Regions from separate parts of the Homo sapiens genome. Here region 2 is linked to region 1. The links are contacts of gene promoters, found by promoter capture Hi-C in blood cells and fetal thymus (Javierre and others, 2016). All regions are on one chromosome and are shown on one strand. The core of a region is centred on a gene start or on the middle of the fragment in contact, and the rest is flanking DNA. Distances in the headings are between cores, read along the strand shown.

Evidence for each region. Contacts are between HindIII fragments. The CHiCAGO score rates a contact against its expected background, and 5 or more counts as called.
Region 2: the fragment with the promoter of BTF3L4 here is called in contact with the fragment with the promoter of CDCA8 in region 1 in 1 of 17 cell types (fetal thymus); the score reaches 6.7 in fetal thymus.

What each region holds. Positions count from the first base shown.
Region 1 is chr1:37,689,687-37,694,402 of GRCh38, forward strand. CDCA8 (cell division cycle associated 8) reads left to right here and starts at 2,830. Exons shown (of 10, transcript NM_001256875.2): 1 at 2,830-3,098; 2 at 3,219-3,347. The coding sequence starts at 3,005. It overlaps AIRIM (AFG2 interacting ribosome maturation factor), which reads right to left and starts at 843. Exons shown (of 5, transcript NM_001350770.2): 1 at 316-843; 2 at 1-197. The coding sequence starts at 194. RefSeq lists enhancers at 1,571-2,081, 2,082-2,591, 2,364-2,553, 2,592-3,102, 3,103-3,611 and 3 more and silencers at 1,884-1,943, 1,964-2,133. The HindIII fragment of the contact is 4,527 bases long and covers 974-4,716 here.
Region 2 is chr1:52,053,676-52,058,391 of GRCh38, forward strand. It overlaps BTF3L4 (basic transcription factor 3 like 4), which reads left to right and starts at 2,620. Exons shown (of 6, transcript NM_152265.5): 1 at 2,620-2,704. It overlaps TXNDC12 (thioredoxin domain containing 12), which reads right to left and starts at 1,516. Exons shown (of 7, transcript NM_015913.4): 1 at 1,325-1,516. The coding sequence starts at 1,421. RefSeq lists silencers at 1,540-1,944, 2,805-3,044 and enhancers at 2,110-2,823, 2,824-3,535. The HindIII fragment of the contact is 3,174 bases long and covers 2,200-4,716 here.

The DNA.
Region 1 (4,716 bases), core at 1,580-4,079:
GCCCGAAGCGCCGGCACATCCTCAAACCGCAGGTTCTGTGCGGCCTGCAGCTGTTCCGCCAGGTTGCTGAGGGAGGACAGGAGGGGCTGGCAGTCCCGCAGGGCACTCTGCCACAGGCCCTGCTGCTCCTCCACCACGGGGAAGCACTTCTTCAGCGCCTCCTGCACGGCAAGCAGAGGCCGGTCTTGAGTCATCTTCTGCTGAAAAAGATAAAAACAGAAAATAACCACGTTGGGGTGCCAAGTCAGTCGGGGAGGCACTGGGTCGAGGGTGGGCGTCATCTCTGTTATCGTGTTCAGACAGGAGTTGTCTCACCTCCAGAAGCAGGGTTTTTTTTTTGTTTTTTTTTCGAGACGGAGTCTCACTGTCGCCCAGGCTGGAGTGCAGTGGCGCTATCTCGGCTCACTGCAACCTCCGCATCCCGGGTTCAAGCAATTCTCCTGCCTCAGCCTCCCGAGTAGCTGGGAATACAGGTGCCCGCCAACACGCCTGGCTAATTTTTGTATTTTTAGTAGACGGGGTTCCTGACCTCAGGTGATCCGCCCGCCTCGGTCTTCCAAAGTGCTGGGATTACAGGCGTGAGCCACCGCGCCCGGCCTGCCTCAGCTTTCTGAAGGAGACCCTGGTTTCCCCTCGGGAAGGGTAACCTGGATAGGGCAGTCTCCTGCTTCAGAGGATTCCTGGCGTCCAAGCGCCGTCTCTTCTCTGACATACAGTCCTGTCTCCCCTGCCCGAGGCTGCCGGTCGCCTTCCTGAAAAAGCGGAAAAACTTAAAAGTCCAGACAGCCAAAGCGTGAGAACCCTCCAGGGACTGCACCACGCGCCCACAGTCTCTCTGCGCATGCTCACACGCGACCTCCCCACAAAGCTACTCCGCGGGCCTGCCTGGCTACTGAGTCGCGAAAATATATCGTAGTGCCGCAATGACTTCTGGGTACTGTAGTCCAACATGTGGACTGGCCACTCGGCTTGAAGCTTCCTTGGGATTGGATGTTGGGACCGTCCAAACACGGCGACTTCTCATTTGTCAGCCTGCGGCAGTTTAAATTGGGTGGCGGTGGTGGCATGTCCTGTTAGCTGTGGAGTCTTTTCCTCTTATCTTGCGCCTCCGGTTGTGCCTTAATGACACTTTTGACATTGTGTATCACAACCAACTGGCAAAAACTAGTAAATCACGGGCTCCTGACGTGGCAGCTCTGGCTAAAATGCAGGTGGACGTCCTAGGTGCCCAGGGAGTTCGGGCTCACTGGGGAGTAGGGTGAAGGAAACCCTGAAACCGAGAGGCTGGAAGCCCGACTTGCGCAGCATAAAAACACCTGCAGGGGGAAAGCCTACATGAGGTACGGGTTGTCATCCCGTCTCATCTTGGCCATCTGACTGATGGAGATCCTCAGGCACCCAGCAGACTGGGGTGTCACCCCCACTACCCACTGCCCAGGGCTGACCTCGGGCGGAAGAGCGACATTCAAATATTTGTTGCATATGGAGCAACAGACCAGGGTGGAAGAGAGAGAAAGGACTTTCCAGGAAGGTCCAGGCTTGCCAGGACTTCTATGCTTGGACTGCTCTGTCCCCAAGCTCGCTGGTGCCCATCAGGAGCCTGCTTGGCACCTTTGCTTATTTCTTCGATTGTTCCTCAACTCAGAGGGGGAGAGGCAAGATTATCACTCCCATAGCCTATAACATGCACGCTTAAACACAACCCCTCTGACATGGCTTCAGACCGCATCCACAGGTGAAAAGCACCAAATCCAAACAATCAGGCCACAAACCCGTCAAGAGCTCGCCGGTCTGGCCGTCCAGTCGCCGCCCGCCTTGAGACTCAGCCTGAGCTACAGCTTCGAAACTAGCCTCTAGCCTTCTGGGTCTCAGCACAACTCTTGAGCAATCCAACCCTGTGGCCGTGGGCAGATACCAAGATGCACAGTTAGCACCTCCGACAGGACCGCGGCTCGGCGGGGCTCGCCGTCTACACGCCCATTCCCAGGCCCACGGCCACGACACCCAGAGCTGCCTCCTGCCCTGGGCTCCCTGGAGCCTGGTGGCCGCGGCTCATGCTGCAGTCACCGTGTGGCCAGCTGCCAAGCGCCACTACTTGCACCTGAAGTCGCAGCCCCGCGCTGCGCACCCAGTCGAGGCGCCAACACGCGAACTGGGCGGGAGTGGCCGGCCCGCGGGGGAGCGAGGAACGACAGGGTTCCCCCCACTCGCTGCCCAGACTGGCCGCGGGATAGCGCGCCCCCCCCAAAGCCTGCACCCCTGCCCTGCTCCTCTATCATTCCGTCCCCCTTGCTCTGTCAAACCCTGCCGGGGCTGCTCTGTCTCTGCCGACCCGCCACTTGCCCGAAGTTCGGCCTGAGGAGCTTGGGGCCCTGAGGAGCGCCGACGTAGGCAGCCAGCCAGTCAATCAGTCAGAGGGTCACGGCGGCCCCTCGGCTACTCAGTGGCAGCCAGGCCAGAAAGAAGCAGCCGCCAACCCTGGAGCAGAATCCTACAGCCGACCTGACCTAGTAGGCCCCCAGCCCTCCAGAGCTTGGGGTATTGCAGAGCCGCCACAAGGCCTGCCGGGAGTAGTAGTTTGTATAGTTCGCAGCCGGCCAGGGCGGAGCCGGGTGGGTTGGTGGGGAGGGCGGGGAAACAAGCCTGGACCACAACTCCCAGGAGTACCCGCGACGGCGGCGGCCTCGCTGTCGCACTCAGGCTATAGGGGGCGCATTGGGCGGAAGACCCTGGGCCGGCAGGAACTTGCTTGTGATTGGATGTTGTGGGACGGCGGCTTCTCATTCGTCAGCCTGTGACTGTGGAGTTTGAATTGGGTGGCGGTTGACTGTAGAGCCGCTCTCTCTCACTGGCACAGCGAGGTTTTGCTCAGCCCTTGTCTCGGGACCGCAGGTACGTGCCTGGCGACTTCTTCGGGTGGTCCCCGTCCGCCCTCCTCGTCCCTACCCAGTTTCTTGCTTCCCTGCCCCATCTCCGCCGCTCCCCGCAGCCTCCGCCGAGCGCCATGGCTCCTAGGAAGGGCAGTAGTCGGGTGGCCAAGACCAACTCCTTACGGAGGCGGAAGCTCGCCTCCTTTCTGAAAGACTTCGACCGTGAAGGTAAGGGGCCAGGCCGTCGCGGCCTCCTGGGGCGGTCGCGGGATGCTGGCGGGTGGGGACACGAGCTGCACAGATTCGCCCGCCCGTGACCCGTGTCCTGTCGGCTCTGCCCTCCCGCAGTGGAAATACGAATCAAGCAAATTGAGTCAGACAGGCAGAACCTCCTCAAGGAGGTGGATAACCTCTACAACATCGAGATCCTGCGGCTCCCCAAGGCTCTGCGCGAGATGAACTGGCTTGACTACTTCGGTAAGAGCTGGAGAGCTTCCCTGGGCGGAGGCCAGGAGCCCCTTGGGGTTAGGTGACACCCTTCAGAAAGGGCTCGCTCAGATGTCACCTTTTAATGAGATCTGACATGACCACTTATGGAAAATTGCAGACCCTTTCACTCTCTGTCTCACTTCCCTACTTCATTTTTCTCTATGAAAAATGGGGGGGTGGTTGGGGGGCGGCGGGCGGGGCGGTCTCTGTCGGACAACTCAGCTCTGCTGTTTACAGGTCCAAAACAGCTGTAGTGAATGGGCATGGATGGGCTGTATTCCAATAAAATTTTAGTTATGGATACACTGAAATGTGAATTTCACATAATTTTCACACATCAGGAAATTTATTTAATTTTTTTTAAACAGAGTCTCACTCTGTCACCCAGGCTGGAGTGCAGTGCAGTGCAGTGGTGCGATCCCTGCTCACTGCAACCTCCACCTTCTGGGTTCAAGTGATTCTCCTGCCTCAGCCTCTGGAGTGGCTGGGATTACGGTCGCCTGCCACCATGCCCCGCTGATTTTTGTATTTTCAGTAGAGACGGGGTTTCACCATGTTGGCCAGGCTGGTCTCGAACTCCTGACCTCAAGTGATCCACCTACATAGGCCTCCCAAAGTGCTGGGATTACAGGAGTCAGCCACTGCGCCCGGCCAGAAAATAGTATTTTTAAAAATATATGTATATTTTACCCATTTAAAAATGAATGAATAAATGACATGGTTAGTTAACCAGAGCTCAGATAGAAGAATAACCCGAAGCAGCTCCTTCTGCAGCTTATGGAAATTGCTAACCTAAAAATGGGCGCATCAGGCTGGGCGTGGTGGCTCACGCCTGTAATCCCAGCACTTTGGGAGGCTGAGGCGGGCAGATGACCTGAGGTCAGGAGTTCGAGACCAGCCTGACCAACATGGAGAAACCCTGTCTCTACTAAAAATACAAAAAAGTTAGCCGGGCGTGGTGGCGCATACCTCTAATCCCAGCTACTCTGGAGGCTGAGGCAGGACAATCGCTTGAACCTGGGAGGCAGAGGTTGCGGTGAGCTGAGAGCACGCCATTGCACTCCAGCCTGGGCAACAAGAGTGAAACTCCGTCTCAAAAAAAAAGACACATCAGTTTTCCTGGCCAGAGAAAAATCCCAGCCTGTTTCTGCACTCCCTTATTAAATGTCCGGAGAAATGCAGGAGGCTGTACTTTTCTGCTGGGTTGCCCTTTTCTGTTTTCCTTATTATTAACTATCCAGCATGTAGTCTCCTTCCTGGATAGAAATGCATGGTCTGCTCACATATTAGACATTGAATGATCCTTTTGACTTGCCCTTTTATTTATTAAGCCATTCATTTGCTTATTTCTCCAAAT
Region 2 (4,716 bases), core at 1,370-3,869, about 14 Mb after region 1:
AAACAACAACAAAAAAAAACGGTAGTCTGTTTTAAAATGGGATTGTCAGTATTTAAAACATTCTGGCCTAACAGGATTTGTCATGCAGTTTCATCACTGAGATGGAAACCCACATATCACCTTCTCCAAAAAGCTTCTCCTGACCTTCATAATTCAAGTGATGCCAGCTCCACCAACCTCCCCAGCCTTTCTACTTCCTATTCCATCACAGTCTTATTGTTTTCCCAGCACTTGTTCCTAGTTGAAACTGTCTTATTAATTTGTTCATGAGTCTACTCTGTCTCTCTGACATGAATATAAGCTCCACCAGAGTAGGAACCTTGTCTGTCCTGTTTACAGCTATATCCCTAGTGCCTAGGACAGTGCCTGAAATATAGGAGGTGATCAAAAATTATTTACGGAATGAAGGAATGATTGCATTCAGGCAAAATGAATGCCCACCCAATCTTATTACTCACCAATAGATGTGAAAATAGAGAGGATAAGAGAAAACAAAAACAGAAGGATTGCAGCAGAATCATTCCATACAGTAAGGTCAGTGAAAAAAAAAAAAGGAAGAGGGGTTGGGATCCATGCTACAATTCATCTACTTAGAAAAGCATAAACTCTGAGTTCACAGACTGTCAGTCCAACTTTCAACTAAGTAAGGGCTGATGAGGAGAGAGGTGTTAAAACTTAGAATGGAGATGTAGGTAATGGATGGAGTAGGGGGCCACACCTCCTAACCTCCATTCATAACCACTGATCGCTCACTTACAAAAAAACTTCGCTGAACCACAGCAAGGACAATTGTTGGGGACCCTTAAACAGCAGACCTTCTACCATTCGCTTGGCTCTTCTTATGCACTAGATACAGCTACCTGGGATGCAGGTGCTGTTTCCCAAAGGCAAGCAAGTGGCAGTAACCTAGCTCTTCGCGGAAGAAGTAACGAGAGAAATCTTCAGACCCAGAACAGGGTCCTCTGCATATGCAGGTCCCCAACGGCTCTATTTCTCCCAGGTGGGAAGGTGACCGTTCCTCAGGACCTCCCAAGTGCTAGGCACTATGCTGGGCTCTTAACATGCTTTCCTTAATTTACGGGCCATTCCTTCCCCCCAATCCAATAATTTAGAGAGGCCTCAAGTACAACTTCTCCATTCCCCAGACCCGCTACTCTCTACCCCAAGAAATCTTCAAACTCCAGGAGCGGTTGGGGAAGATAAAAAGAAATCTGGAGTGGCCTAAGAGTTAGAATGGGAGGGGAACGGTGCTAGGGCAAGAAGAGATTATACTGGGATCAGTATAGTAAAGATCAGTAAAGAGAAGATAAGAACGCGGTCTGACCCTTTCCAAGCCCATTATGTCCATCAGAAGAGATGACGAGGAGCAGGAAACTGAAGCCCAGCAAACAGGTGGCCCCGAGACGAGGCCGCGTCTCCATGGCAGTAGGTGCGCGGGGCCACGGGGCTGAGCGGACGCAGGGCCGGAGTCCCAGCAGACGGTCCACACAGTTCGCCGAGCGCCGCTCAGCACAACACCTCTACTTCCCAGATTTTTTTTTTTCAAACTCTGAAGGAAGTGATGTTAGACGGATGTGGGTGGTGCCTCCGGGGTCCGGTTTGGGATGGAGTGAGCTTAAAGGTGCAGATCACGTAGAAGGGTACGAGAGCTGTTCTCGAGCGCGAGTTGCTTTTCGTGGATTCTGGGTGTCCAGGTCCCGGGACGGAGCGGGAAAATGTAGGCCAAGATAGTAGGGGCGGGGGAGAGGTTCGGGAGAACCGTTGCTCCTCGCGTCCGCCACCCAGTCCAGCCCCTCCCCCCAAGAACCGCTGCACTTCCTAGTCAAAAGCAAATTATTGATTCGTGAGGTCAGTCGCTCCCAACAGTGGGCGGATTGCCCACTGGCCTCGGATTCTCCTTACCCCTCCACAAATCAAGACTGGACAACTGGATTTCATTGTTAGGTTCCTGCGAGGGTCTCTGAGGAGACCTGGCAAGCCTGTTCTGCGGTGCGTGGGCTCGTGCCGTGCAGACATGCACTTTCCCGCTGGAGAAGCTCTGTACCTTATTTTTCCTTGCAACCGCAAATCTTCTACTCAGGGATGATGCAACCAACTGATGCAAGCTCCAAGAAAACCAAACTTGGGACCTCTTATTGCAAAACTGACTTAGGTGGACTTAGGACACCAGGATATAAGTCACTGCAGGCTAAAGTGTAAAGCTTCTGGTTATTTTTCTTGTAGCTTGAGGATTTCTTCCCAATTTTTCCCCTTCGCTGTATAACAAACAGGTGAAAATGTCCGGTCTTTTTCTTCCTGGTACTAGTTGAGTCCTAAAGTCCGTACTTAATGCATAGCGAAAAAGCGACCTAACAAAAGTACACACCCAAATAAAAACATACCGACCACCCTTTTATTAGGTTCCCTAAAATTGTAGGCAGGGACACAACAGAACGCTCGGGAGACTGCAAGCCCCAGGATGCCGCGCGGCCACCTGCACCTGCCGCCACTAGCACTAAGAGGGATGCGCAAAGCAGGCGGGGCGTTGGAGTTCAGATGTTCGCTCCCGGGATAGGCTGCCCCGGAGAGGGAGAGGCGGGGTCGGCTGTATCACGTGGATCTGCTCCCGCCGCCGCCGCCGCCGCCGTCGTCTTTCTCTGTCTCGGCTGAGGCAGCCATCTTTCTCTTGCCGCGTGCTGGTGTTGGAGGACCCTCCCTGCTTCAGGTGAGACCCCCGGCGGTCCCGCCACTTCACGGCCATAGGCCGCTGCGCACGGTCTCCCCCCGCCCTCCCCTTCCGACACCCGCCAACCGCTCAGGCTGCCACTTCCGCCGTGGTGCGGCGAGCGGGGGCGGAGGCGGCTGGCTTGGCCTGTCGGTTACCGGCGGCGCAGCTGGGGGTCGGCACCTGTGGGAAGGTCCCCAGCACCACCGCCCCCTGTGGGAGCGAGCGGGCCCGCCCTGTTGCCGCCCAGACCCTGTCCCAGGAGGCAGGTGGACGCCCCTCCTCTGTTCCATTACTCCTTGCTCACAACAGCAGTGTTGTGTGCTTTGAGCTTTATACAGGCTCTCTGTTGTCATCTCATTTGATGCTCCCAGTCTACAGATAGGGAAGCTGAGGTTACCACTTCCCGCCCTTGAGTCCAGGGAACCGAACTCAGTTACAGCACTCTTCACCTTGTAATGGCAGTGTTTGTTTACAAGTCGGCGTCCCTTGCCCATCTTTATAACCCCCCTCCCACTGCCTGCTGACCGACAGGCTCAGTGTTGCACAGCTAGTGAATGGCGGTTTCAACTTCCGTTCCCACATTCTTGCAGTTTACCATAGTTGTCCCCTCGGGAGTGGTAACAATAGTTACCAGTAACTGTGTATCTTCTGTGAACCATTCCCTGTGGTTGATAATGTTTTAACCCTCAAAACAACCCTGTGAAGTACGTGGTGTTATACCTTTCCAAATGCAGGAGGAATACAAGTTCAGAGAAGAAAAATACCTTTCCCAACTGGTAGAACCTTGGTCTTTCTGATTCCAAAGCCTGTGCTTGTCTTAGAGAAACCCTACATAATAAAAAGTCAGGACTCAAGGTTGCAATTATTTTTATCTCTGTGTAAACATGATGTATGTGAAAGTGCCTACCACAATGCTTCTAACTTAGGCACTTAATAAATATAAACCTGTTTACACCCTTTCTTGAGTCCTTGAGAACAGTGCTAAAAGATCCTGGAATCCCCAAGGAAGAACTCATTAATCATGTGGCTTTAGGAAGTTACTTCTCCCTTTTGGGCCTAGGAAGGGACTTCTCCCTTCTGGGCCCTTATTTCCTAATCTATTAAGATGGGAGGGAGGGAACTGTTTCGTTTGTAATTTATACTTTGCTGGTGCTAGCAGATGTTGAGATGACATCACAGATAGGAATGATGGGTGCAATAAAGTAGAGGTTGATTGAGAATAGAGAATTAAACCAGGTGATCTTGGAGGTCTACTCCAGATTCTGAGCTTGACATCGCATAGACTGAGTCCAGTCCTCTTTCCTACTTGAATTCCACACACCACAACTTGCCAAGAAACAAAAGACTACTCTTGTTCCTCCCCTACTGCCTTGAGCTCTCAGTCTCCCTAAAATCATTTTTCTCTGAGATACTCCTTAGGAACAAAATTTCTCAATTCTGTTGTCCTGACCACCTGGAATGGAATCTGTTCTTTCATCTATACCTTGATTTGAAGAGTTAATTTTGTTCTTGCTTTTATTTCAAACAAGTCAAGACTTTGTCTTGGCATCCCAACCTCTGTCTGTTCTCTTGGGAATTGTTACTTCAAAATGCAGAAGAATCCCAAAGGGTTTACCAAGTATCTAGGTCTAATGTTTTTCCTTAGCCCCTTTTTTTTTGCAATAAATTCCTTTGGCTCTTTGTTAGTTCACTACACTCTCATGGCCACATTCCTTTGAGAAAAGTGAATGTTGGTCCTTTTCTGTGGATATTTGAGCATAGGAATTGGGATTTAAGTCATCAAATTTAAGTCTATGGCAGAGCTAAGATTGGCACACATTTAAGACTTCTTGTTTTGGACTCTAAACACACTTCCTCCTATAAAAGTGTTTTTAGCTGCTTCAGCATTGTGATACAGCGCTGAGCAGAGTGAAGAATCATAAATTCTAAATATTATTTGGGATCTGGACATTAGCCTTAAAGAAGAGATAGATATATAGGTTATTGCCTAAGGATAGTGTCAAAGTACA